Linked DNA regions of Homo sapiens: regions 1, 2, 4 and 5 are each linked to region 3. Evidence: promoter capture Hi-C in human tissues and cell types (Jung and others, 2019). All regions are on one chromosome and are shown on one strand. The core of a region is centred on a gene start or on the middle of the fragment in contact, and the rest is flanking DNA. Distances in the headings are between cores, read along the strand shown. Region 1 overlaps CTCF (CCCTC-binding factor). Region 2 overlaps CTCF (CCCTC-binding factor). Region 3 holds the start of DDX28 (DEAD-box helicase 28). Region 4 overlaps LOC124903703 (a long non-coding RNA gene). Region 5 overlaps PRMT7 (protein arginine methyltransferase 7).

What was found. The method cuts DNA at HindIII sites, captures the fragments that hold promoters and counts their contacts. A contact is called where the count stands out against the background at its distance.
Region 1: a contact is called between a fragment that was not itself captured here and the fragment with the promoter of DDX28 in region 3, in 3 of the 25 tissues and cell types used here (aorta, dorsolateral prefrontal cortex and spleen).
Region 2: a fragment that was not itself captured here is called in contact with the fragment with the promoter of DDX28 in region 3 in 1 of the 25 tissues and cell types used here (heart left ventricle).
Region 4: a fragment that was not itself captured here is called in contact with the fragment with the promoter of DDX28 in region 3 in 1 of the 25 tissues and cell types used here (bladder).
Region 5: a fragment that was not itself captured here is called in contact with the fragment with the promoter of DDX28 in region 3 in 2 of the 25 tissues and cell types used here (dorsolateral prefrontal cortex and lymphoblastoid cells).

Annotation. Positions count from the first base shown.
Region 1 is chr16:67,605,442-67,611,246 of GRCh38, forward strand. It overlaps CTCF (CCCTC-binding factor), which reads left to right. Exons shown (of 12, transcript NM_006565.4): 3 at 5,383-5,805. The coding sequence starts at 5,392. Among named protein-coding and RNA genes, the nearest start is that of CARMIL2, 37 kb to the right of the region's middle. The HindIII fragment of the contact is 5,706 bases long and covers 1-5,671 here.
Region 2 is chr16:67,590,368-67,595,940 of GRCh38, forward strand. All of the region lies in intron 2 of CTCF (CCCTC-binding factor), which reads left to right. Among named protein-coding and RNA genes, the nearest start is that of CTCF, 31 kb to the left of the region's middle. The HindIII fragment of the contact is 6,285 bases long and covers 1-4,993 here.
Region 3 is chr16:68,021,841-68,027,689 of GRCh38, forward strand. It overlaps DDX28 (DEAD-box helicase 28), which reads right to left and starts at 1,392. Exons shown (of 1, transcript NM_018380.4): 1 at 1-1,392. The coding sequence starts at 1,362. It overlaps DUS2 (dihydrouridine synthase 2), which reads left to right and starts at 1,444. Exons shown (of 17, transcript NM_017803.5): 1 at 1,444-1,511; 2 at 3,575-3,654. RefSeq lists enhancers at 93-843, 844-1,594, 1,305-1,544. The HindIII fragment of the contact is 9,907 bases long and covers 1-5,849 here.
Region 4 is chr16:67,553,454-67,559,053 of GRCh38, forward strand. All of the region lies in intron 1 of LOC124903703 (a long non-coding RNA gene), which reads right to left. Among named protein-coding and RNA genes, the nearest start is that of CTCF-DT, 6.1 kb to the right of the region's middle. The HindIII fragment of the contact is 4,862 bases long and covers 1-4,124 here.
Region 5 is chr16:68,328,100-68,333,888 of GRCh38, forward strand. It overlaps PRMT7 (protein arginine methyltransferase 7), which reads left to right. Exons shown (of 19, transcript NM_019023.5): 6 at 967-1,075. It also overlaps the pseudogene RNU4-30P. Among named protein-coding and RNA genes, the nearest start is that of PRMT7, 20 kb to the left of the region's middle. The HindIII fragment of the contact is 4,800 bases long and covers 557-5,356 here.

The DNA of each region.
Region 1 (5,805 bases), core at 1,569-4,068, 410 kb before region 3:
GTTGTTGTATTTTTCTCTTGGTTGTTGAGAACAAGGGACTAATGAAAGAAAGAAGGTAATGGAAGAATAAACCAAACTGGCAATCCAACAACCTCGGGAGTTTACCTTGAGCCTTGTTTTTTTCCAGGCAGATGGTGGGGTTTGCTGAATCTGTCCAAAAGTATATGTTGCTTCAAGCCCGGCTTTTGCCCTTAAAGAGCTTTCACACCCAACTGGGAAAATAGATCGTTTTGAGAAAATTTTAAGTGCTAAACTGTGTCCTTATTTTATCAGAAACACATTTGGAGCAAAGTAGTGGCCACAAGAACCTCAGAAAGCTTTGTTGTGCCAGGGATGAGCTGGTGTTGAGAGGAGTGGATCAGACGTAAAGTACAGAGTGAAGACAGGGAGATGACAGTAGGAACTGTGTCTGGATGAAAAGACAGCTTGACTGAAGGGGAGAGTGCTAGAGGGCAAGACATAAATCTGAATAGGTTATCATGGGGTCAGGTACGAAGGGGCTTTGTGAGCCAGAAGGGTGGTAAGTGCATCATGTAGTTTTTGCAAAAGTAGAGACACACTTTTTGAGGAAATTAAGTCTTCTTCTTTGTGAAATGAGTGAATCTTTACTTCTCTGCCCAGAAAGCATAAGTGGTTTTCCATTGCCAGTCATCTGAGGTATTTTGTTATTCAAGACCATCCAAACTATGGGGGGCAACCAGCACATCTTTCACCTGTCTTACTACCCTCTCCTCTGTCCTGTGCTTTAAGCCAGTTCTTTTTCTTACTCATAACTAATTCCCACATGTATTTATTGTACCCAGAAATCCAAACCTTTCCCCTACAGAATACATCCTCTGCCCTCCACTGTCAAACTCTGCCTTTAAATGTCCTGCTCACGTTTCAGGGTTCCGTTCAAATTCCACATTTATGAAGCATTTTTCTATCACACCTGGTTATGTTATCTTTCTCCAAACCTATGTAATTTCACCTTGAACCATTGTGCTACCTATTTTGTCCTTTATGTTAGACAGTAACTCCTAGAATGTAGGACCAGGCCTCCCAAAATGCTGGGATTACAGGCGTGAGCCACCACGCCCGGCCCCTATTTTGCTCTTGTTTAGGTAATGTCATTCTCTCTGTAGTAGTTCTTGTGCTGCCTCTCAGGTGGTCCTGGCTTAAGGAGTCTTCTCTGACTGCTATCATGGATATAATACAATGTTAAGGTGCCTAGACAGAGAATTGGAGAAAAGTGTGTCTAATAGAACTAACAAAAGCTTCGTTTGAGCTGTATTCTTGGCCAAAAATACAAAACACTTCAATGTTTTGTTTTGGGTTTTTTTTTTTTTTTTTTTTGAGACATAGTTTCACTCTTATCGCCCAGGCTCCAGGCTGGAGTGCAGTGGCACTCGGCTCACTGCAATCTCCGCCTCCAGGCTTCAAGCAATTCTCGAGCCTCACTCAGCCTTCCAAGTAGCTGGGATTAGAGGCACACCCCACCACACTCAGCTATATATGTTTTATTTTATTTTAATTATTATTATTTTTTTGAGACAGAGGCTCGCTCTGTTGCCCTGGCTGGAGGGAGTACAGTGGCCCAATCTCAGCTCACTGCAACCTCCACCTCCCAGGTTCAAGCAATTCTTCTGCCTCGGCCTCCTGAGTAGCTGGGATTACAGGCATGTGCCACCACACCTGGCTAATTTTTGTATTTTTAATAGAAACGGGGTTTTGCCGTGTTGGCCAGGCTTGTCTCCATCTCCTGACTTCAAGTGATCTGCCCGCCTCGGCCTCCCAAAATGCTGGGATTACAGGCCTGAGCCACCACGCCTGGCCCCTATTTTACTCTTGTTTAGGTAATGTCATTCACAAGATTTTTGTTTGTTTTTTATTTTTTGTTTTTGAGACCGAGTCTCACTCTGTCGCCCAGGCTGGAATGCAGGGGCACTTTCTCAGCTCGCTGCAACCTCCACCTCCAGGGTTCAAGTTCTTTTCGTGCCTCAGCCTCCCAAGTAGCTGGGATTACAGGTGCACACCACTACGCCTGGCTAATTTTTGTATTTTTAGTAGAGATGGGGTTTTGCCATGTTAGCCAGGCTGGTCTTGAACTCCTGGCCTCAACTGATCCACCAGCCTTGGCCTCCCAAAGTGCTGGGATTACAGGCGTGAGCTACCGTGCCCGGCCCATTCACAAGATATAAGAGCCAAAAACTATGAATTGGCTGATTTGTTTTCTGCTTTCTATTATATATTCAATTTGGTTGGCATTTATTGAGTACTTACCATCCTGGGCACAGTGCTAAAGAGTAAAAACCGTGGCTGGGCGTGGTGGCTCACGCCTGTAGTCCCAGCACTTTGGGAGGCCGAGGCGGACAGATCACGAGGTCAGAAGTTCAAGACCAGCCTGGCCAACATAGTGAAACCCCGTATCTGCTAAAAATACAGAAAATTAGCCAGGTGTGGTGGTGGGCACCTGTAATCCCAACTACTCCGGAGGCTGAAGCAGGAGAATCACTTAAACCTGGGAGGCAGAGGTTGCAGTGAGCCAAGATCACGCCATTGCACTCCAGCCTGGGCGACAGTGCGAGACTCCGACTCAAAAAAAAAAAAAAAGTAAAAACCGGTTGGGCGCAGTGGCTCACACCTGTAATCCCAGCACTTTGGGAGGCCGAGGCAGGCGGATCACGAGGTCAGGAAATCGAGACCATCCTGGCTAACATGGTGAAACCCCGTCTCTACTAAAAATACAAAAAATTAGCCGGGCATGGTGGTGGGCGCCTGTAGTCCCAGCTACTCGGGAGGCTGAGGCAGGAGAATGGCGTGAACCTGGGAGGCGGAGCTTGCAGTGAGCGGAGATCGTGCCACTGCACCCTAGCCTGGGCAACAGAGCGAGACTCCGTCTCAAAAAAAAAATTAAAAAAAAAAAAACGACTTGTTAGATGTGGTTCTTATTCTCAGGGAATTCCTGATCTCATTGTCAGGAGAGAGGTGAATGTCAAGTTGATGGTATGACATGGGCAGTTTTGTGCAGTGTCTACAAACACGGCCATTGCAGTCTGGATCTAAGTTCTGAGTTTGGCTTCAAAAAACAAGGTCAAAAACCCTTGACAGGGTGGGGAAAATGGGGAATTGCTGTTGAGTGGGTATAAAGTTTCAGTTATGCAAGATGAGTAAGTTCTAGAGATCTGCTACACAACATAGTTCCTGTATTAATCGTATAGCATTATGCACTTTGAATTATGTTGAGGATGGATCTCATGATAAATATTATCACCAAAAACAAAATACAAGGAAATTTTGGAGGTGTATTTAGTGTTTTTTTTTTTCTTTTTTGAGACGGAGTTTCGTTCTTGTTGCCCAGGCTGCACAGTACAATGGCGCAATCTTGGCTCACCGCAACCTCCACCTCCCGGGTCAAACGATTCTCCTGCCTCAGCCTCCCAAGTAGCCAGGATTACATACAGGCATGCACCATCACACCTGGCTAATTTTGTATTTTTACTTAGGACGGGGTTTCTCCATGTTGTTCAGGGTGGTCTCGTACTCCCGACCTCAGGTGATCCACACACCTCAGCCTCCCAAAGTGCTGGGATTATAGGCGTGAGCCACCACGTGCTTAATAAAGCTACCTTAATAAAGCTTTTTACAAAACATTGGCAGACCCGGGCACAGTGGCTCAGTCACATGTATAATCCCAGCACTTTGGGAGGCTTAGGTGGGAGGATTGCTTCAGCCCAGGAGTTCAAGGCCAGTCTGGAAATGTGGCAAGACCCCATAATTGCAGAAAATTAAGCTAATTCATATATGCATCATCTCACATCCTTGTCATTTTTTGTGATGAGAACACTTAAAAATCTGCTCTCAGTTATTTTCAGGTATACGTTATTATTAACTGTAATATTCATGTTGTATAATAGATCTCTTGAACTTATTCCCACTGAAATTATATGTCCTTTACCAGTGTCTTCCCCACTACATGTGTAAGATTTAAATTAGTTTTGTTAGTAATTCTTTAATATCATCAGATATCCAGAGTTGAAATTTCTAATTGTCTTGTGTCACATCTTTTTCACCATTTATTGGTTTGAATCAGGATCCAAAGAAGATTCATGCATTGTGATTGATTACTGTCTCTTTAAGACTCTTTTATCTGTATCAGAGTTTCTCAGCCTCAGTGCTCTTGACATCTTGGGCCTGATAATTCTTTTTTTTTTTTTTTTTGAGATGGAATCTCGCTCTGTCGCCCAGGCTGGAGTGCAGTGGCGCGATCTTGGCTCACTGCAAGCTCCGCCTCCCAGGTTCACGCCATTCTCCTGCCTCAGCCTCCCAAGAGCTGGGACTACAGGCGCCCACCACCACGCCCGGCTAATTTTTTTGTATTTTTTAGTAGAGACGGGGTTTCACCGTGTTAGCCAGGATGGTCTCGATCTCCTGACCTCCGGTAATCTGCCCGCCTCAGCCTCCCAAAGTGCTGGGATTACAGGCGTGAGCCACCGTGCCCGGCCTGGCCTGATAATTCTTTGTGGTGGAGGACTGACCTGTGTCTTGGAGGATGTTTAATAGCATCTCTAGCTTTCACCCACGAGATAACAGTAGCACATCCCAGCCCAGTAGTGACAACCAAAAATGTGTTAGCCAAATGTTCCTAGAGGCAAAGTCACCCCAGGCTGAGAACTACTGATCTACTGGTTCTCCCTCCAATCAGTCTTCCCTTGTATTCTTCTTGTTATCTATTTGCAGAAGAACCTGAGTATAATCTTGCAGTGTTTCCCTCGGTATGGATTTCACTGATTTAATCCCTGTAGTATAATTTAACATCCTGAGTCACCAATTTCCTGTTAATTGGGTTGGATCTAGAGACTTGATTGGTTTCAGAGTTTTGGAGTTTGTTTGACAAAATTGCATTATAGGTAGTGGTTTTTTCTTTTTCTTTTTTTTTTTTTTTTTTTTGAGATGGAGTCTTGCTCTGTCCCCCACGCTGGAGCGCAGTGGTGCAATCTCGGCTCACTGCAAGCTCCGCCTCCTGGATTCAAGCTATTCTTCTGCCTCAGCCTCCCGAGTAGCTGGGACTACAGGCGCCCGCCACCATGCCTGGCTAATTTTTTTTGTATTTTTAGTAGAGACGGGGTTTCACCGTGTTAGCCAGGATGTTCTCGATCTCCTGACCTCGTGATCCGCCCGCCTCAGCCTCCCAAAGTGCTGGGATTACAGGCGTGAGCCACTGCACCTGGCCAGTAGTGGTTGTTTCTTTCATCAAGAGGCACATGTCTGTTGTGTCTTTTTTAATATTAACAACCATTGATGCCTAATTCATTCACCAAAGGGTCTTTTTGTTTTAAAATGTATATTTTTATTTAGACATGCTTTGCTTTAAATAACAATCTGTGTTCTCCCTTAATAAAGGCAGGGGAAATGGAAGGTGATGCAGTCGAAGCCATTGTGGAGGAGTCCGAAACTTTTATTAAAGGAAAGGAGAGAAAGACTTACCAGAGACGCCGGGAAGGGGGCCAGGAAGAAGATGCCTGCCACTTACCCCAGAACCAGACGGATGGGGGTGAGGTGGTCCAGGATGTCAACAGCAGTGTACAGATGGTGATGATGGAACAGCTGGACCCCACCCTTCTTCAGATGAAGACTGAAGTAATGGAGGGCACAGTGGCTCCAGAAGCAGAGGCTGCTGTGGACGATACCCAGATTATAACTTTACAGGTTGTAAATATGGAGGAACAGCCCATAAACATAGGAGAACTTCAGCTTGTTCAAGTACCTGTTCCTGTGACTGTACCTGTTGCTACCACTTCAGTAGAAGAACTTCAGGGGGCTTAT
Region 2 (5,573 bases), core at 601-3,100, 430 kb before region 3:
AAATGGGAGGGGAGATTGTTAACAAAATACTAGAATGCTCTTAACTTTTTTTTTAACTTAGAAGAAACATTTTCATTTCCCTTTTAATTATTTCTACACACACACATACAAAAAGCCCTGTTATTTTATAATTTTTTATTTTTATTTTTTTAGTAGAGACAGGGTTTCACTGTGTTAGCCAGGATGGTCTCGATCTCCTGACCTTGTGATCTGCCCACCTCGGCCTCCCAAAGTGCTGGGATTACAGGCGTGAGCCACCGTGCCCGGCCCTAACTGTTCTTTTAAAAATTGGCCGAGCACGGTGATCGGCCAGGTGTGATGGCTCACACCTGTAATCCTAGCACTTTGGGAGGCTGAGGAGGGTGGATCAGCTGAGGTCAGAAGCTCAAGCCCAGCGTGGCCAACATGGCGAAACCCTGTCTCTACTAAAAATACAAATATTAGCCGGACATGATGTTTGGTGCCTGTAATCAATCCCAGCTACTTGGGAGGCTGAGGCGGGAGAATCGCTTGAACCCGGGAGGTGGAGGTTGCAGTAAGCTGAGATGGCACCATTGCACTCCAGCCTGGATGACAGAGTGAGACTCTGTCTCAAAAAAAAAAAAAAAAAAAAAAATGCTGGACTGGGTGGCTCACACAAATGCTGTGATTACAGGCGTGAGCCACCGTAATCCCAGCACTTTGGGAGGCCGAGGCGGGCAGATCACTTGAGGTCAGGAGTTTGAGACTAGCCTAGCCAACATGATGAAACCCCATCTCTACGAAAAATACAAAAATTAGCTAGTCGTGGTGATGCGTGCCTGTAATCCCAGCTACTCAGGAGGCTGAGGCTGAGAATTGCTTGAACACAGGAGGCAGAGATTGCAGTGAGCCAAGATCTCACCACTGCACTCCAGCCTGGGTGACAGAGCGAGACTCTGTCTCAAAAAATAAATGAAAATTAATGTCAGAGAAGTGAGAGGTACAGTTGTGATTAAATAGATGAGTGCTTTTTCAGATAAAGGCTGCTTCCGTTCCCAGTCACTGTGAAAGAAATGGTCACTATTATTTTTCTGCTTCTCAGCCCAAGTTATTCTCCCAATTCAACTCCTCCTCATTCTTTATTGTAGTCTACAACTTTCCTGGTACTAGTTCACTGATACTTTGCTTTGATGTATTTTAAGCTCTCAGATAAGATGATGGCGTATATGTTTTCAGGAATAGCAGAGTAAAATGGTTATTTTGTTTAACTTTTAAACCTAGCTTTTACTCTAAAAGAGTTAATAACTTTTATTCGTTTTGGCTAGTGTCCTGCATCTAGTAAAAGTTACTTAGCTTTTCCTTTCATCCTCAGGAAAAACTGATTACTTTTTTTGGGGGGGGGCAGTAAGGGCACAGAGTCTTGCGCTGTCACTCAGACTGGAATGCAGTGGTGTGATGATAGCTTACTGCAGCCTGGGCTCAGGCGATCCTCCCGCCTCAGTCCCGAGTAGCTGGGACTACAGATGGATGCCATCATACCTAGCTAATTTTTTTTTTAATTTTTAATGGAGACAAGGTCTCACTATGTTGCTCAGGCTGGTCTTGAACTCCTGGGCTCAAACGATTCTCTTGGCTCTGCCTCCCCAAGTACTGGGATTATATGTGTGAGCCACTGTGCCCGACCTGATGACTTATAATTGCTTTTTTTCCCCTCCTTGTCCTAATGTCATTTAACATTCTGTATAGTGAGAATACCAGACTAAGCTTTTCAGTCAACATTTTTCTAATGTAAAGATCTATCGACTGGACGCAGTGGCTCACACCTGTAAACCCAGCACTTTGGGAGGATGAGGCGGGCACATCACCTGAGGTCAGGAGTTTGAGACCAGCCTGGCCAACATAGTGAAACCCTGTCTCTACTAAAAATACAAAAATTTGCTGGGCATAGTGGTGTACGCCTGTGATCCCAGCTGCTCAGGAGGCTGAGGCAGGAGAATTGCTTGAACCCTGGAGGCAGAGGTTGCAGTGGCCGGGATTGTGCCACTGCGCTCCAGCCTGGGTGGCAGAGCAAGAATCTGTCTAAAAAAATAAATAAGGCCAGGCACAGTGGCTCATGCCTGTAATCCCAGTAATTTAGGAGGCTGAGGTGGGAGGATCACCAGAGCTCAGAAGTTTGAGACCATCCTGACCAGTATGGTGAAACCCTGTCTCTACTAAAAATATAAAAATTAGCCGGCATGGTGGCATGCGCCTGTAGTCCCAGCCACTCGGGAGGCTGAGACATTAGAATTATTTGAGCCCAGGAGGCGGAAGTCGCAGTGAGCCAAGATCGTGCCACTGCACTGCAGCCTGGGTGACAGAGTGAGACTCCGTCTCAAAAACAACAACATCAAAAAAAGATACTTACAGAGGCCAGGCGTTGGTGACTGGCTCAACGTCAGTAATCTCAGCACTTTGGGAGGCCGAGGTGGGTGGATCACTTGAGCTCAGGAGTTTGAGACCAGCCTGGCCAACATGGTGAAACCCCGTCTCTACTAAAAATACAAAAATTAGCGGGGCACAGTGGCATGTGCCTGTAGTCCCAGCTACTTAGGAGGCTGAGGCAGGAGAATCGGTTGAACCTGGAGGCAGGGGTTGCAGTGAGCCGAGATCGCGCCACTGCATTCCAGCCTGGGTGACAGAGTGAAACTCCATCTGGAAAAAAAAAATTTATATATATATGTATAAATGTTTAATATATATTTTATATTTATATATTTGTATATCTTTTTTATATTTTAATATATGGTTTTTAATATATATTTTATACATATAAAGAGAAAGGTGCAAGGTATCTTCTGTTCTCTTAAAATTTTTTACAATTTCAACTTTTATTTTAGATTCGGGGGTACATGTCCAAGTTTTTTTGTGTACATGGGTATATTGTGTGATTATGAGGTTTGGGGGTACAATTGTTGCTCATCACCCAGGTAATGAGCATAGTACCCAATGATTAGTTTTGCAGCCCTTACCCCGTTTTCTCCCTCCCCCTCCTAATCCCTAAGGCCTATTGTTATGTTTATGTCCATGTGTACCCAGTGTGTAGCTTCCACTTGTAAGTGAGAACATGAGATACTTGGTTTTCTGTTCCTGCCTTAATTCGCTTAGGATAATGACCTCCAGCTGCATCTGTGTTGCTGTAAAGGACATTATTTCATTCTTTTTTATGGCTGTGCGTTCTCTGCCTTCTTATGATGTCTGAGGGTTCGTATCAACCTCTGTTAGGCCATTTGTTAGGTACCCTTCATGTTGACTTTCAGAATTTCTGTGGCTTGTGAAAGTTCATGGGGTCTTAGAGCTGCTAATGTATTTCTTACCAAGAGAATGCAGATAGACTTCTGATCTCCCCAGGAAATAAGTTGGGGTTTTTAGCAATCAGTTGCCCCTTATAATGGATAGTAAGCAGTATATTAAAAAGTTGTGGGTTTAGTTATAAAATAGACTGCTGGAAATCATTCTCTTCTACTGTCTTATTCTCAGTACACATGGATTATTCCTAGTATAATAACCAGTCTACTTAACTGACTAAACTCTGCAGTGGTGAGTATAAAAGGTTGTTTTGGTTGTTTTCCTTTGGAAATTGTCTGACATATTTGCTATGTAGTCATAATCATAGGTGATAAATTACTAAACCTTAATATCTTCAAAAATTAGTGTATTCACAATTAGCTTCCATTTTTACATGGCAGGATTTTAAAAAATCTAACCTGTAATTGTGTTTTTGGGAATTTTTATTTTTCTCTATTAAGAAGTGACACAGGCTGAGCATGGTGGTTTATGCCTGTAATCCCAGCACTTTGGGAGGCCACTTGAGCTTAGGAGACCAGCCTAGGCAATACAGTGAGATCCCATCTCTGTAAAATAAAATGAACCAAGTATGGTGGCACATGCTTGTAGTCCCAGCTACTTGGGAGGCTGAGGTAGGAGGATCACTTGAACCCAGGATGTCAAGGCTGTAGTGAGCCTTGATTGTGCCACTGCACTCCAGCCTGAGCGACAGGGTGGGACCCTGTCTCAAAAAAAAAAAAAAAAGGTGTAAGAATTGACACAGGCTAGTTGCAGTGGCTCATGCCTATATTCTCAGCATTTTGTGGGGGATGAAGTGGGAGGATCCCTTGAGCCCAGGGGTTCGAGAACAGCCTGGGCAACATAATGAAACTTTGTCTTTCAAAGTTTCTAAACTTTGCATCACTAAAAAAATAGTGATGCGTAAAAAAACTTCGCATCACTAAAAAAATAGTGATGCAAAGAGAGCAATAAAGGTAAATTCGTATACTTAGGCTTTCACTTAGCATATAAACAGTGTTTTGTTTTTCCATGTTCCCTTCCTGCTCTTGTCCTGTGCAGGAACCATCTATACCTGTTTCATCTGACAAAGTCAGTGAGAATTCCTGTTTGTCTAACACTGTTTTGTATCCATTGCTGTAGAGACTACAGAAACAAAAGGCATAGTTACTGCCCTTAAAAAGCTAATACTGGGGGAAAAACACATAGAACATTATGCTACAGTTAAAACTTGTGGTCAGTTTGTACTGGTCAAGGTTGAGATGACTTTGATTTAGAAGGTGACTTGAGCTGGGAAGGGACAAGACATCAGATACTGATATAGAAGATGCCCAGCAGGAAATAGTCAAAGGTGAGGTTGGGTGGGTGGAAGGGAATGGGAACAAACTGTACAGAGCTCTGGGAGCTAAGATGGAGAATTTGGACCTGATTCAGTCAGCATCACCAATCATGAATTTTTGGAATTTTTGAGCCTCATTTCAGGAAGGTTTAATGTGGCGTCAATATTCTGGATAGAACAAGACTGGCCAGCCTGCAAAGCTGTTCTGTCTCTTCCTACCACCCTCCCCCACCCTTCCTTTGACTCACCTCAAACTTCTGGGCCCAAGCCATCCTCCTGCTTCAGCTTCTCAAGTAGCTGGAACTATAGGTACAAACCACCATGTCTGGCTTGTTCTGTTTCTTTTTTACTCTTTCTCCTTCATTCCTGGATTTAGTCAGTCACCAGCTTCTGTCAACTGATTGTACCTTCATCGTACAGAAATCCAGTACTTTATCAGAGAAGTCATTTTTGTGGGGAAAATTTATCAAAGGTTTAGATAAGATTAGATTCTAGGAATCTAATTAGAAAGCTAAGAAGCCAAAAAAGCATATATTGTTGAGTTAACCATGTTGAATGTCTTCTTGGCTGGCGGTATAAGGATACAGAGGATGGCAGTTGGCACCATGCATGTATTGTTTCATTGGGTTTTTATGATAGCCTGTGAAATGGGTACCATTTCCTTATTTTATAGAAAAGAAAACTGCAGCGAGAAGGTAGCATATCTCACCCCAGGTCACAATGCTAATTAGAAAAACCAGAATTGGGATGCACGTCTCTGACTCTTAACAGTGATTCCATTCTGCCTCTCCTGTCCGCCCTCCCTTTTTAAATATAGAACAAACATTTTCTCCATATTATGTATTAAAGCACTATTTTTGATGTCTACGATTCACACCACCAATTACCTTCAGTAGAATTGTGCTAGTTTCACTGCACCAAGGACAACATTGGGGAGTATCTTTCTTTT
Region 3 (5,849 bases), core at 142-2,641:
TGTGCAGAGAAGTATGTCTCGGGAGCTCTTCTGGAAGGACTGGAAGATTCCTACCCTCATCAAGGCTGGCATTTGCCCCTGCAACCTTAGGTGTTGGATTTTGTGGTCATCCAGAATATATCCCAGCCAGTTCACAGTGCTGGAGCTATTACAGAACACCAGAACAGTTCCTGAGGGACCAGTCCTTTCTGCTCTGTCACGATGCTTGAGGATGTGCACCAGCTCGGCCACCTTATCTGCTCCCTTCAGTCTCAGAAATGTCTGTTTCACATGAGGCATGATACAGTGGAGCTTGGAGCTGGTGATGGTGGTGACAGCATCTGGGCTGGCGACTTTATTCAGCAACTGGCCTACACCTTCGGGAAATGTGGCTCCTACCAGCACTAACTGAGCTTTGGGATTGAAGGGGTCTTCCAAGTCAGCTGGGCCTTCTGCTATGTGGCTCTTCTCTAAGATGTAGTCCACCAGTTCCAGGAAGCTTTCATCCAGCAGTGTGTCTGCCTCATCCAACACCAAGAAGGAGAGTTGCTCCAGACTGATCAGTCGACTTTTCAGGGCCTTCCACAGAGCCCCTGGAGTGGCCACAAGCACATCTGCTGAAGGCTGTCTGGACAGCTGCAGCCTGATCCTACGCATGCCGTGGCCTCCCTCCAGGTCCCGCACCAGCAGGCCCAAGGAGCGGCCCAAGGGTTGGGCCACAGCCCGCACCTGTTGGGCCAATTCTCGGGAAGGAACAAGGACCAGGCCTCGGGGCGCGGGGATAGGAAGGGAGTCCAGGCTTGGCTGGCCCAAGAGCCGTTGAAGCAGCGGCAGGAGGTAGCTGAGAGTCTTGCCACTGCCGGTTTCTGCGGCGCAAACGACATGGCGGCCGCGAAGTAGTGAGGGGATGGTGCTAGACTGCACGGTTGTGGGCTGAACGACTTCAGGCGCAGCCTCCTGTAGTGCGTGCAGCACACGGGGCTCCAGGCCCAGGTCAGCAAAGCTGCCCTTAGACGAGAGCTTTCGCACCGCTGGCGCCTCCTGTTGCGCGCGCTCGATGGAGAAGTGGTCCCGACGCGCGCGTCGACTCTTCCAGCCTTGAGAGGCTAGCGGCGCGCGCTCCCAACGGCCCAGTGTGAGGCGCGCCGGCTGGTTCAACTCCGGCCGCCGCGCCGAAACCAGCAGCGGTCCGGGTCGAACCAGCACCGGCCTCGGGAGGTTCCGCCGCCTGCTCTGCCGCTGTTCCAACTGCCGCTGTAGAGCCACTGGGATGCGCACCACCGGCAGGGGTTCGTCGGGACTGCGGACCGTGAGGCCCCGTCGCGGCGCCAGGAGCAACCGAGTCACGAGGGAAAAGAGCCGCACCGGCCGCGTTAGAGCCATGTTTCCCTTAGTGCGGGAGAAGCGCACATCAGTGACGTCACGGACGCGCCGCGACCTCGCGTACGGTGGCTGGCGAGGCTCAGTACGGTGTGTGGAGCTGGAGCACCGTGAGGAAGAAGCGAGGTTCTTTTTAAGAGTTCAGCTGCGAGGTCTGTAGCTCCGAATAGGGGATGGCGACATCCAGACCCGGCCAGCCTTGGGGAAGGGCGCGTCGTGGAGGCAGGACTGGAGGCTGGCGATACGAGGCGGCAGTGGGGCCTTGACCCAATGGACCATGAGGGCGGAGGGCTTCTGGCGATTGGTTACCTGGTTCCTGGGATTCTCTTTAGTTGTTCCTCATTGCCCTGAGATAGCTTGTCCCGTGCTGGTATCCGAGGTTGCAGCTGTTTTCCCAGATGTGTTCCCTGCGCAGGGTCTGGTAATCCGTGTTTATTGAGAGTTTGAATGAATGATCAGGCCTAGGGGCCGAGACAGGGGTCTGAAGTCATAGATCTGGGCTCAACCCCTCACCCTCTCTGTCTGTGAGCCCAGAGTGCAAGCTGATGGCTTTCAGCTTCTTCTCTCTCTCAAGTGGGAGATAAGGTCTTCAGGTTTTATTTCAAGTTGGGTCATCTTTTCTTCACAGTTATTTTCCTTCCTTTTAAGCCAAGGTTCACTCTCTACTCCCTCGTCACGCGTCCCAACTTCTCATCCAGAACCCACCCCTCTTGCAGCCCGCTCAGCTCCACTGGCTTCCCCGTCAGAAACCTGAATTACCTAAAATAGTAGTAAGAAGGGTGCTGCGACCCTACAAAGTGATCAAGTACGTGGCTTATCATGTAGCCCTGGTCAGGCAGAATATTTTACCTGAATTCAGATATTCGGGTTGTAAAAACAAGAACTATACGAGTCACTTTTTTTTTTTTTTTTTCTGAGACACAGTCTCGTTCTGTCACCCAGGCTGGAGTGCAGTGGCGCAATCTCGGCTCACTGCAACCTCCACCTCCTGGGTTCAGGTGATTCTCCTGCCTCTGCCTCCCAAGTAGCTGAGACTACAGCCGTACACCACCCACGCCCGGCTAATTTTTTCTGTTTTTAGTAGAGACAGGGTTTCACTATGTAGGCCTGGCTGGTCTCGAACTCCTGGCCTCAAGCGATCTTCCCACCTCGGCCTCCCAAAGTGATGGGATTATAAGCGTGAGCCACCATGCCCAACAGATACTTCTTGAACAGATCTGGAAAATGGGTGTCAGATCTTTTCTGTAATTTGCAGTGCCTGGGGTGGGAGATAAGGTAAATATTTATGGATTAACTCTCTGGGAGGTTCGTAACATCTGGAGAAAACGTTTTAGTTTCATCAAATACCAATGAAAAGATAAAAACTTTGCTTTTTTTGGAATAGTATGAGGAAAAACTTTCACAATTTTAAGTACACTCTACCCTTGTGCTACACAATTAGACTTTCTGGAGAGTTACCAGATAAATCAGAGGAAGAGAGGCTTTTTTTCTCCACAAGAAAATATCTGGAAGTAGGAAGAGAAAGTTTTGAGTAGTGATGGGTGAATGAACAGTCATTGGATAGGGTAGTGGTTCTAAAACAAGGGTGATTTTGCCCTTTCCCTCCCACCATATTTGACAATGGCTGGATACTTTTTTTTTTTTTTTTTTTATAGACAGTCTCACTGTGTTGCCCAGGCTGGAGTACAGTGGTGCGATGTCAGCTCACTGCAGTCTCTGCCTTCTGGGTTCAAGGGATTCTCCTGCATCAGCCATCTGAGTAGCTGGGATTAGAGGTGTGCGCTACCACTCCCAGCTAATTTTTGTATTTTTAATAGAGACAGGGTTTCACTACGTTGGGCAGGCTGGTCTCAAACTCCTGACCTCATGATTTGCCCACCTTGGTCTCCCAAAGTGCTGAGATTACAGGTGTGAGCCGCTGTGCCCGGCCCAATTCTATGCTACTTTTATGATTCTTTCCAAACTCAGGGCTTCTCCTTATCCAAATAGTTCCTTGGGGCCAGGCTCATGCCTGTAATCCCAGCTACTCGGGAGGCTGAGGCAGGATAATCGTTTGAACCCGGGAGGCGGAGGTTGTTGCAGTGAGCCGAGATCGCACCATTGCACTCCAGCCTGGGCGACAGGGCGAGACTCTGTCTCAAAAAAAAAAAAAAAAGGTCCCTTGGATGTTTGTCCCAACAGGTTTCATCCATTTCCATGTGCCACTGTTTTTCAGATATCAAACAAAGAATTACTCTGTACAAAGCCAGAACACATATATCAAAGTAATCCTGAAGTATCAGAACAAAATAATAGGTATGTATATGCATTTGGGTTTTTGGGTTTTGTTCAAATATCCAGGGTAGGGTAGCTGGTTAATATATAGTTGTTTTCTCATTATGCTTGAGTCCTTACAATATGATTACCTCAAAATTTCACAGGAGTTAGAGCTTGCCTAAGCCTGTCTGTGTCCGTGGCCACTAATTTCTTCTTGTCACATCACTAGACACTGCCTACCTTTTTTCCCCCTCACTCACAGAGGACATTGATTAACTTCTAAATGTTTTCTGAGATATTTTTATAAGTAGTGCTTTAGAAATAGGAAAGGTATCCTTATTGTGAAAAAAAATCTAAGCTCCTGAGATCAGGAGCTTGGTGTGTTCCTTGGATCTCAGTTAATAATGGTATATTCATTCATTCATTCAATCATTCATTCAACAAATACTTCCTGAGCACCACGCATGTGCCAGGCATTGGTAGTGAGGAAAACAGCCAAAATCCCTGCCCTTGTGGAGTTTACATTCTGATTTAATTGATTTGGGTTAAGGCCTAGACAAGGTCTTGCTCTGTCACCCAGGCTAGACTTCAGTGGTGCCATCTCGACTCACTGTAACCTCTGCCTCCCAGGTTCAAGTGATTCTTCTGCCTCAGCCACCCCAGTAGGTGGGATTACAGGCACGTGCTACCAAACCCGGCTAATTTCTGTATTTTTAGTAGAGATGAGGTTTTGCCATTTTGACCAGGCTGATCTCGAACTCCTGACCTCAGTTGATCTGCCTGCCTTGGCCTCCCGAAGTGCTGGGATTACAGATGTGAGCCATTGTGCCCAGCCGAGAAATTGGTATTTTTAGAAACCTCTCCAGATGTAACTAGGCTTGAGAATCACAGTTATAAATGAAGCACTTTGGGAATTGCAAAGCATTACAGCAATAAAAAGTGCTATTGGTATTACTTTATTGTTCCTCCATTTTCCCACCTGTAGCAGGGCTGTGCGCAGGTAATCATATTTTCAGTCATTATCACTATAGTATTCCTGGACCCTTTGACCTTCCTTCTCATCCAGCTCCCTACCTGCTCTTTGTTTTTTACCCTCTGGTCTACCTTCTGTTTCCCGAGTGATGTTATTAAAGCACAGCTAGGCCTGGTGTGGTGGCTCACGCCTGTAATCCCAGCACTTTGAGAGGCCAAGGCGGGCAGATCACGAGGTCAGGAGTTCAAGACCAGTCTGGCAAACGTGGTGAAACCCTTTCTTTACAAAAATACAAAAATTAGCTGAGCATGGTGGCAGGCACCTGTAATCCCAGCTACTCGGGAGGCTGAAGTGGAAGAATTGCTTGAACCCGGGAGGCGGAGGTTGCAGTGACCTGAGATTGTGCCATTGCATTCCAGACTGGGTGATAGAGCAAGAGTCTATCTGAAAAAAAAAAAAAAAAAAAAAGCACAGCTATGGCCATGTTACCCTTTGACTCAAAAGCCATTCATGAATCCTTGTTGCCTGCAGATTATTTCCTAATCAGTATCCAGAATTGGGCTCAACCTCTTCTGTTGCTTTCTTATGTGAATCTTGTTCACTCAAGTGATGGCTCCATGCAAGTTGGCCAAAGGGCTTGTAGTCCTTTACTGGGTAAGCCAGAGATTGGAGTAGTCATTCGTCTCCTCTAAAACCAAACTTGAGTGATAACAAAGCACTTTAAATGCACTTTGGCTGGGATAGAGTTCTTCTGTGACTGAAGCATGGAGTGGATCATAGCTCTTGTTGCACTTGGTCCATTAACTTCTTGTTTTTTTTTTTTTTTGGAGATGGAGTTTTGCTCTTGTTGCCCAGGCTAGAGTGCAGTGGCATGATCTCAGCTTACTGTGACCTCCGCCTCCCGGGTTCAAGTGATTCTCTTGCCTCAGCCTCCCAAGTAGCTGGGATTACAGGCATGCGCCACCACACCCGGCTAATTTTGTATTTTTAGTAGAGACGTGGTTTCTCCATGTTGGTCAGGCTGGTCTGGTCTCAAACTCCCGACTTTAGGTAATCCGCCTGCCTTGGCCTCCCAAAGTGCTGGGATTACAGGCGTGAGCCACCTCACCCGGCTGCCATTAACTTCTTTTTACAGCAAACACTAAGCATCTACCATATGCCAGATTGTATGCTCTCTGATGAGGATCTGGTGATGAACAAGCCACAGTGCCTATTTTCACCTTACAGTGAAGAAGGCATATTGACAGATAGTTGCTCTTCT
Region 4 (5,600 bases), core at 444-2,943, 470 kb before region 3:
CATCACCTAAATACCTCTGCTGTCTGCCTGAGAGCCTGAAGTTTCCACAATTAAAGCCCTTCCCAGCCTGGGCAACATAGTGAGACCCTGTCTCTATAAATAATTCTTTTTTTTTTAATTAGCCAGACATGGTGGCATGTGCCTGTAGTCCTAGCGACTCAGGAGGATTGCTTGAGCCCAGGAGTTAAAGGCTGCAGTGAGCTATGATTACGCCATTGCACTTCAGCCTGGGTGACAGAGTGAGATCCCATCTTTTTTTTTTTTTTTTTTCCTGAGACAGAGTCTCGCTCTGTCGCCCAGGCTGGAGTGCAGTGGTGCAATCTTGGCTCACTGCAACCTCTACCTCCCAGGTTCAAGTGATTCCCCTGCCTCAGCCTGCTGAGTAGATGGGATGACAGGCACACACCACCACAACCAGCTAATTTTTGTATTTTTAGTAGAGACGGGGTTTCACCATGTTGGTCAGGCTGGTCTCGAACTCCTGACCTCGTGATCCACCCACCTTAGCCTCCCAAAGTGCTGGGATTATAGGCCGTGATTGCCATCACACCAAGCCTACAGTCCCCCATTTTTTATGGGGGATATGTTCCAAGCTCTCTGGTGGATGTCTGAAATCAAGGATAGTCCTGAATCCTATATATAGTATGTGTTATCAATCTGATAACTGAGATGGCTACTAAGTGGCTAATAGGTGGGTAGTATATACAGCATGGGTATGCTGGACAATGGAACGAGTCACATTCCAGGCAGTATGCAGCAGGATGTTGTGAGATTTCACCACTCTACTCAGAATGGTGTGCAATTCGAAACATGATTTCTGGAAGTTTCCATTTAGTATTTTCAGACTGCAGTTGACCATGTGTAACCAATAGCAGAAAATAGCAGAAAGTGAAGCTGTGAACAAGGGGGAGACTACTGTACTCATTCTGATTTTGCCAACAAGTTGCCGGACAACCCTGAGCAAGTCACTTCATTTCTGAATTTAGGACAAAACTGCCTGGCTGATCAAATAGAGCTGTGAGCATCACTTGAAAAGGCAGACATGAAGGTGTTTTGCAAAATGAAAAATATAGAGATGGATTATAAAGGGTGATCCATGCATGTTTGGAAAAGTAAGTAACAGCACAGAAAACAAAATCAACTTCTAAAACATTGGATATAGGTTTAGCAACAGTCCTTTATACCTTTAAGAGCAGTCATTTGAGCTGAGAGGTAAAAAATAAATATGGCTGGCCGGGGTAACCCCAGCACTTTGGGAGGCTGAGGCGGGCAGATCACAAGGTCAGGAGATCGAGACCATCCTGGCTAACAGGGTGAAACCCCATCTCTACTAAAAATACAAAAACATTAGCTGGGCATGGTGGCACATACCTGTAGTCCCAGCTACTCAGGAGGCTGAGGCAGGAGAATTGCTTGAATCTGGGAGGCGGAAGCTGCAGTGAGTCGAGATCTCGCCACTGCACTCCAGCCTGAGCGACACAGCGAGACTCCACCTCAAAATAAATAAATAAATAAATAGGCCGGCGTGGTGGCTCACGACTGTAATCCCAGCTCTTTGGGAGGCTGAGGTGGGCAGATCACATGAGGTTGGGAATTCCAGATCAGCCTGACTAACATGGAGAAACCCCGTCTCTACTAAAAATACAAAATTAGCCGGGCATGGTGGCGCATGCCTGTAATCCCAGCTACTTGGGAGGCTGAGGCGGGAGAATTGCTTGAACCCGGGAGGTGGAGGTTGTGGTGAGCCAAAATCATGCCATTGTACTCCAGCCTGGGCAACAAGAGCAAAACTCCGTCTCAAAATAAATAAATAAATAAATAAATAAATAAATAAATAAATAAATAAATAAGGCTTTCACAGGGGTCTGAAGAAAGCAGACATTAATAAGGAAAAAAACTCCTACAGTCTAGGCAGGAGATGATATGGAAGGATGAGTCTTTAAAATGTTAGAATAGGCCGGGCTTGGTGGCTCATGCCTGTAATCCCAGCACTTTGGGAGGCCGAGGCAGGCAGATCGTGAGGTCAGGAGATTGAGACCAGCCTGGCCAACATGGTGAAACCCATCTCTACTAAAAATACAAAAATTAGCTGGGCATGGTGGTGCGTGTCTGTAATCCCAGCAATTTGGGAGGTTCAGGCAGGAGAATTGCTTAAACCTGGGAGGCAGAGGTTGCAATGAGCCAAGATTGCACCACTGCACTCCAGGCTGGGCAACAGAGCAAGACTCCATCTTGGGGAAAAAAAAAATTTAAATGTTAGAAGTGGTTAGGCTTGGCAGTTGATGTTGGCAGACAATGAAAGCTTTCCAAATGTCTTTAAAGGTTTAGCATCACTACTCTACACCCTCATCCAATGGTGTAAGATGACTCGCTGTCCCCCAAATACTCTTGTAGACTTTTATGCCTTTGATCATGGCTCTTCACCTTACATGTCTTCGTGTCACTTGTTAATGCTTTGCTAATCCTTTAGACCCAGCTGAAATGAGATACTCCTGGAGTGATTTACTCCTTTAGCTGTGAGCTCATTTCTTTCCACTATAACAGTTATTGCATTAATTTTTTGTGTGTTTGTTTTAACCAGTTTTACTAGTTAAATTTTGAGTCCAAGGGCAGGAAACACATCGTGAGTCATCTTTGAATCTCCAGTGCCTAGAACAGGAAGCTACACACACCAAGTATTCAATAATTACTTGATGAGCTGCATCATGTCTCACACATGTTCTCAACAGGTATAGAGAAAACCAGAGTGTTCACATGTAACTTTAGGCCTTACCCCAAGGAGGGCAGGAAGATTCCCTGCTCATTATGTCTTAGAAAATCAATATGTCTCCCCTTCGTTTGTTGATTATCTTGATTAAAGAGTTTTTAAAAAACATGTAAATGATCATAATTATTGCAAGCTTTACAGGGGTAACAATAGGAGCCAAGGAAGATCTTGGAAATACAACTGTTCTCCTGAGAATCATAGGATAATGATTTCTGGCTGGGTGCAGTGGCTCATGCCTGTAATCCCAGCACTTTGGGAGGCTGAGGTAGGAGGATTGCTTCACACCAGGAGTTCGAGACCAGCCTGGGCAACATAGTAAGACCCCCATCTCTACAAAAAACAAAAAACCTTAGCCAGGTGTGTTGGCACTCGCCTATAGTCCCAGCAACTCAGAATGCTGAGGCAAAGGTTGCAGTGAGCAGAGTTCGCCACTGCACTCCACACCCCAGCCTGGGCAACAGTGGACAATGCGACCCTGTCTCAAAAAAAAAAAAAAAAAAAAAAGCTGCTTTATTTCTTGTCTAATCCTTATGGCTGTATCAAGCACAATGATCATCCCATTTTATTTATTTATTTTTTTGAGACAGAGTCTCCTCTGTCACCCAGGCTGGAGTGCAGTGGCGCGATCTCGGCTCACTGCAACCCCTGCCTTCCAGATTCAAGCAGTTCTCCCGCCTCAGCCTCCTGAGTAGCTGGGATTACAGGCACCCACTATCGTACCTGGCTAATTTTTGTATTTTTGGTCTTGAACTCCTGACCATAGGTGATCCACCTGCCTTGGCCTCCCAAAGTGCTGTGATTACAGGCATGAGCCACCACGCCCAACCTATCATCCCATTTTATAGAAGAGAAATCTATAGTTGAGTTGTTACGAATTCAACAGAGACCACACGGCTAATAAAAAACCAAGACTAGACTTGAATCCCGAACAATCTAATTCTAGCATCCAGAGAGGGTGACATTAAACATTTAAGTTACATAACTAACACTAGTTAATCTAATTAACTGCTCATCAAATATTTCTAGTAATTTGGCTTCCCCGAATGCTCTCCTATAGGGGATCAATATGCCTTTTGCCAGCACGAGGACACTGGTCCACTTGCCCGTTGTTAACAGCACTCTGCTTATCTAGCAAGCGCCTGTGAGCCTGACAAATCCCCGAGGAAGGAATCTGCTCTTAGGGTACAAACCACATTGGGTTTCTGGTCCTGTACGTGAGGCTCAAGGCCAGATCTTTTTTTTTTTTTTTTTTGAGACAGAGTCTCACTCTGTCGCCAGGCTGGAGTGGAGTGGTGCGATCTCTGCTCACTGCAACCTCCGCCTCCCAGGTTCAAGCGATTCTCCTGCCTCAGCCTCCTGAGTAGCTGGGATTACAGGCACACGCCACCACACCCAGCTAATTTCTGTATTTTCAGTAGAGACGGGATTTCACCATGTTGGCCAGGATGGTCTCAATCTCTTGACCTAGTGATCCGCCCACCTCGGCCTCTGAAAGTGCTGGGATTACAGGCATGAGCCACCGTGCCCAGCCTAGCCTTATTTTTATCACCTCAACTGTTTCACAGCCTGTCATCATATTTTCCCTCAGCTTGTTTCTTTCCAGCCTCAAACATTCTATTCCTTTTGTTTGGCCTTCTGTTCCTTCATCTTTGGAGCTGACTCCATAAAGTAGGACACATCAAGATTTACCATAAAGACAAGAAAATATTTTGTTTGTTTATTTATTTTTGAGATGAAGTCTCGCTCTGTCGCCCAGGCTGGTGTGCAGTGGCGCAATCTCGGCTCACTGCAACCTCCACCTCCCAGGTTCAAGCAATTCTCCTGCCTCAGCCTCCCGAGTAGCTGGGATTACAGGTGTGCCACCACGCCTGGCTAATTTTTATATTTTCAGTAGAGATGAGGTTTCACCATGTTGGCCAGGCTGATCTCAAACTCCTGACCTCAGGTAATCCGCCTGCCTCGGCCTCCCACAGTGCTGGGATTACAGGTGTGAGCCACTACGCCCAGCCAGAAAATATTTTCTTTTCTTCCTTCCTTAGTGATCCTTCGCATTTTCTCAGCCCTATGTGAGAGCAGTACATAGGGTCCTTGTCTTCAGAAAGCAGGCTTCAAGGCCACTTGGACCCCATTCCTGGCTTTTGATGCCTCAGAGATCATAGAGTTATAAATATAATTAATATATAGTTGTAAATATAATCATAAATATAATTGAGGCTTTTTTCCCTCTAAATCCACTGCCTCAGGCTGGGTGTGGTGGCTTACATCTGTAATCCCAAGACTTTGGGAGGCTGAGGTGGGCGGATCTCCTGAGATCAGGAGTTCAAGACCAGCCTGGCCAACATGGCAAAACCCCGTCTCCACTAAAAATACAAAAAATTAGCCAGGAGTGGTAGTGCACACCTGTAGTCCCAGCTACTCGGGAGGCTGAGGCAGGAGAATTGCTTGAACCCAGGAAGCAGAAGTTGCAGCGAGCTGAGATCGAGCCACTGCATTCCAGCCTGGGCGACAGAGTGAGATTACATCTAAAAATAAAATAAAATAAAAAAATAAATCCACTGCTTCATATTTGCCTACATAAAAGCTTTAGAAGGTGTTCCTGTAGTCTACTCTTAAAGAAGATGGGGACAGGTGTGGTGGCTTACATCCCAGCACTTTGGAAGGCCAAGACAGGAGAATTGCTGGAGCCTGAGACCAGCCTGGGCAACACAGTGAGACCTCATCTCCACAAAAAGAAAACAAAAAACAAAAAAAAAGGAAGGTGATTTGAAGTAAAATCTTGAGAAAGTGAACTAATTAGCTTATTAATGTTACTAGAAAGAAAATCTAAAGTTTA
Region 5 (5,789 bases), core at 1,707-4,206, 310 kb after region 3:
CATAGGTAAGCTTGGAGGCTGAAGCAGCTCCACTGTGAATGCTAATCCTCCACGCTGACTTCTGACCAACCCCAGCTTCAGGAATGCCTCTAAAATTTCCGCTCTCATGCACTTTGATGTAAATCCTGCCCTCAGGTCAGAACAACTTTGATGTTATCATAAATACATACTTACCGTAAATCCTGCCCTTCGTCAAATTCCCTGTGGTATGTAAGCCCTGCGTCTGAGCCATAACAGTGTGGGGGCCCAGTTTCTCACTGCCCGAGACAAGGCTTCTGTTTGTATGTCTCTATAAAGTGTGTCTTTCTGAGAAGCTGGATTTGCCAGTCTTTCCTCAGCCTCTCAGCTCCCGTGGCCTGTTGGGGTAGGTTTGCATAGAGCTGCCCACCATGGAACAGTATGTATGTATAGCAAAAAAAAAAAAAAAAAAAAAATGGTATACATAAGGGTCAGTACTGTCTGAGGTTTCAAGCATCCACCAAGGGTCTTAAAATGTATCCCCCATGGACAAGAGGCACTGCTGCACCATAAGAAAATAGAGGCTGTGTTCTGCCAACAGTGGGGATTTGGGACAATTTTGAGCCCAGAGGATGACCTACTTACTCACACCTACAGTCTGCTCTCCTCTGGAGGGCACAGCACGCCTCCCAGGTTCGTGAGGCAAGTCCCTTTCCTGGCTTTTTGGCGTCCTCTTGTGCGGTACTGACACCTACTGCTCTTACTAAGTAGTGCAGCCTCCTCAGGATCCCCGGCATCCCCGCTGTGCCTGGCACGGAATGAGAGTCCCTAATCACAAGTTAAAGCCAGCTGAATCTCAGCCCTTTTTCATGATGCACATTTGGAGAATAAAGTATTTAAGTTACATATCTTAGGACCAGAATCAAGGAATAGCTTGCTCACCTTAAAGGTCAGACTACTGTTTAATTTATTGCTCATTTTTCCTTGGGTTTCGGCTCTATTTTCTAGGTTTTCAAGCCTATGGCTGATGCTGCTGTGAAGATTGTGGAGAAAAATGGCTTTAGTGATAAGATTAAGGTTATCAACAAGCATTCCACCGAGGTGACTGTAGGTCCAGGTGAGATTTACACACCCTGTGTTGAAAGCTTTGCTTGCTCTTGTGTGAGAGAGGAAAAGGGTTATTCCAGTTACCTGGAACAAATCCAGGTCATAGCATAGAAGTGGGACCTCTCTGTGTGGAGCTCTGACAGTAAGGACTTGGTTTCTCTTGATGTTTATTTTCCTGCTAGTTAAAACTAGTCAACAAGGAGTAGACTAGAGCTAGTCAGGTCCAGCAATGGAGACGCAAACAAAACCTACATTTGCTTTAAGCAAATTGGAATTCTTATGGGGCTCAACTCTTGAGTTTCAACTACCAATAATTACGCCTTGGATAAACCTCATTGGCTACGATACTGCCACTGCTCAAAGCTCAACTCTGAGTTTCATCAGGCAGAAAGTACTTAGTTCTTTTATTTATTTATTTTTTTGAGAGAGAGTCTCACTCTGTCGCCCAGGCTGGAGTGCAGTGGCGCTATCTTGCCTCACTGCAAGCTCTGCCTCCTGGGTTCACCCATCCTGGCTAACACGGTGAAACTCTATCTCTACTAAAAATACAAAAAATTAGCCAGGCATGGTGGTGGGCACCTGTAGTCCCAGCTACTGGAGAGGCTGAGGCAGGAGAATGGCGAGAGTAGTTCTGACATTCTGCTTCTGCATACAACATGAACAATTTTCCTGTATAGCATTGTCTCTTAAGGTTTCCAGAATATGTATATGTACACACACACACACACACACACATATTTTTTTTTTGAGACGGAATCTCACTGTGTCACCCAGGCTGCATTGCAGTGGTGCAATCTTGGCTCACTGCATCCTCCACCTCCTGGGTACAAGTGATTCTCCTGCCTCAGCCTCCCAAGTAGCGGTGATTACAGGTGCCTGCCACCACACCTGGCTGCTTTTTGTATTTTTAGCAGAGACGGGGTTTCACCATGTTGGCCAGGCTGGTCTTGAACCCCTGACCTCAGGTGATCCGCCTGCCTCAGCCTCCCAAAGTGCTAGGATTATAAGCGTGAGCCACCATGCCTGGCCTCCAGAATATTTTTTATAGTCTAGAACTTTGTTTCAGTCTTTGAAAATTTCACATGCCACTGACACTTAGAGAACATAGTTGAAAGATTTGCAAAGGAAAAACTGTGGTGAAGTTATGGATAACACCATGGGTTTTTTCTAATTTTTTGTGGAGATAGGGTCTTACTATGTTGCCCAGGCTGGACTCAAACTCTTATGCTAAAGTGATCCTCCCATCTCAGCGACCCAAGTACCTGGGACTACAGGTGTGCACTACTGCACCTGGCTTTTTCACCACGGTTTTGGAGAATGCAGTATCATTCTGAATTGAAGCTTCTACCTAAGGTCAACATTATTCTCCCATTTAACAATTTTTTTTTAATGGAGAATCTGAAACATGTACAAAAGAAGTGGGTACTATCTTATTTATTTATTTATTTGAGACAGAGTCTCACTCTGTTGCCCAGGCTGGAGTGCAATGGCAGGATCTCAGCTCACTGCAACCTCTGCCTCCCATGTTCAAGCGATTCTCCTGCTTCAGCCTCATGAGTAGCTGGGATTACAGGCGTGCACCACCATGCCTGGCTAATTTTTGTATTTTTAGTGGAGACGGGGTTTCACCGTGTTGGCCAGGCTAGTCCCGAACTCCTGACCTCAGGTGACCAGCCTGCCTCGGCCTCCGAAAGTGCTGGGATTACAGGTGTGAGCCACCGCGCCCGGCCTATCTTTTTTATTTTTAAAATATACAATAGAGTGCTCAAATCATTCCATTTACAATCAACGTTATTGAAGTATGATTTACATTAAATGAATATCCATTTTCATTATGGATATTTGACAAATATAAACACACTTGTAACCACCATCACCATAATGAAGATAATAGAACATCTCCATCATGCCCAAAGAGATTCCTCATAACCCTTTCTATCAGTCCCCCCATATCCTGGTCCTAGGCACCCACTCATAGACTTCATTATAGATTAGATTTGCCTGTCTAGGATTTCAAGGAAGTGGAATCAAAGAAGTGTGGACTCTTCTGTGTGTGTGCTCTCTTTTTTATAGCGTGATGCTGGTAAGATTCTTCCACACTGTTCATGTCTTGGGGGTCCGTTCTTTTGTGTTACTGAGCAGCACTCTATTAGATAGATGTACCATAACTTGTTTATCTCTCTACCTGTTGATGGACAGGGATTTCTTGGATAGGTCTTTAGATTCACTGATCTTTTCTTTTGCAGCATCTAATATGCTGTTAAGTATATTTAGTAAACTTTTCATTTCTCTTTCTTTGTTGTTCTTTTTTTTTTTTTTTTGAGACAGGATCTTGACCTGTCCCCCAGGCTGGAGTGCAGGGGTGTGAGCATGGCTTATTGCAGCTTTGACCTCCTGGGCTCAAGCAGTCCTCCTGCTTCAGCCTCCTGTGTAGCTGGGACCACAGGCTCATGCCACCATGCCTGGCTAACTTAAAAAAAATTTTTTTTTGTAGAGATGGGATCTCAGTTTGTTGCTTAGGCTGGTCTCAAACTCCTGGGCTCAAGCGATTCTCCCACCTCAGCATCCCAAAGTCCTAGGATTACAGGCGTGGGCCGCTGTGCCTGGCCTCATTTTTGATATTGTATTTTTTAATCTCTGAAAGTTCCACTTGATTCTTTTTCATAACTTCCATTTTTCTCATGTTCATAGTTTTCTATAAGCACATTTATTTTAGCTTTTTGAACATCCTTATCTTCTGTTCCCACCATCTTTGTTTTTTCTGGGTTTGTTCTCTTGACTCATTTTTATCCTTATTCTGGGTCACATTTTCCTTCTTCACATGTCTAACCATTTTTGTTTGGATGCTGTGGCTATTTGGAATTCCCCATTGTTGAGTGCTAGACTTCGTTGGTTTTGCTTTTTAAACTTTGGCATGCAGTTGGGTTACTTGCAGTTCAGATTGATCCTTTCAGGGCTTGTTTAAGCTTTCTTTGGAGTGGGGTTAGAGTAGCTTTAAGTCAGGCCTTCTCAACAGTAGTGCTGTGACGTTTTGGCATTCTCCAACTATGTGACATTTTGATAATTCTTTGTTGTGGACCCTGTCCTTTGCATTGTAGGATGTTTAGCAGTGTCCCTGGCCTCTTCCCAGTGGATGTCAGTAGCACTCCCCTCCTCCCACCATTCTTGCCAACTAAAAATGTCTCCAGACTGCCACGTCTTCCTTGGTCTCGAGTGTGTAAAATTGCCACCTGTTGAGAACCACTGCTCTAAGGCTGTTTAGCCAGACAGTTACTGTAACCTTTCTGGAGTGTCTGCTGAGAGCTCTAGGTGCTCAGCAGGGTTTCCCTTGTCTGGCTGATCAGAACTTGAATGTTTCCCAGGCCTCTGAGAGCTCCGGAGATTGTTATCACTCATGCAACCTTTGCTCGGCTTCACAGAGTATTACCCTGTGTGTGTGTGAATGTATTAACACAGACCCTAGAGGAACCCTGTGCAGCATTCTGAAGGCTTTTTTTCTGTGTAATTTCCTCTCTGATTCTCTGCCTGGCAAGTTCCAGCTGCTTCCACTTCCCTGAACTCGTTTCCTGTCTGTTTAACTCAGCAAGACTGCCGTGCTCTGTGTCACCTCTTACCCTATACTGTGGTCTGGAAAGGGTCTCCTGGCTGATAGCCAGAGCAGGGTAAGGGTTACTTGGTTTGTTTCCCTTCTTAGGGAGCAAACTGTGTTGCCTCTTGCTCAACATCTGAAAACACTTGTTTCATATATTTTGCCCAGTTTTCTAGTTGATAACAGCCGGAGGGTAAGCCTGATCCCACTTATTCCACTATGGCCAGAGTGGAGATTGATTCATTTATTTATTTTTTTTTGAGACAGTCTCACTCTGTTGCCTAGGCTGGAGTACAGTGATGCGAACACAGCTCACTGCAGCCTCGACTTCTGGGCTCAAGTGATCCTCCTGCCTCAGCCTCCTGAGTAGCTGGGACCACAGGCAGGCGCCACCATACCCAACTAATTTTTTTGTTTTTTTAAATTTTTATTAGAAACTAAGTCTTGCGGCTGGGTGCAGTGGCTTATGCCTGTAATCCTAGCACTTTGGGAGGCCGAGGCTGGCGGATCACCTGAGGTTGGGAGTAGCAACCAGCCTGACCAACTTGGAGAAACCTGTCTCTACTAAAAATACAAAATTAGTCAGGTGTGGTGGTGCATGCCTGTAATCCCAGCTACTGAGGAGATTGAGGCAGGAGAATTGCTTGAACCTGGGAGGCAAAGGTTGCGGTGAGCCGAGATTGCGCTATTGCACTTCAGCCTGGGCAACAAGAGCAAAATTCTGGCTCAAAAAAAAAAAAAAAGAAAAGAAAAGAAACTAGGTCTCGCTTTGTTTCACAGGCTGGTCTTGAACGCCAGGCCTCACACAGTCCTTCTGCCTCAGCCTCCCAAAGTGCTGGGATCACAGATGGGAGCCACTGTACCTGGCGAGATCATTTATTCTTGAAAATTTATCCATTTTGACGGCAGGGAGACTGATCTGCAGGGCAGCCTTGGCCATGAAGTATGCTGACTCTGCCTCCAGGCAGCATTGTTCACACACACCTCAGCTTAGGCCAGGCCCCTCATATGATTTCTTATTAAAAAAAAAAATTTTTTTTAGATAGAGTGGCTCTGTCGCCCAGGCTGGAGTGCAGTGGCATGACCTCGGCTCACTGCAACCTCCACCTCCCGGATTCAAGTGATCCTTCCACGT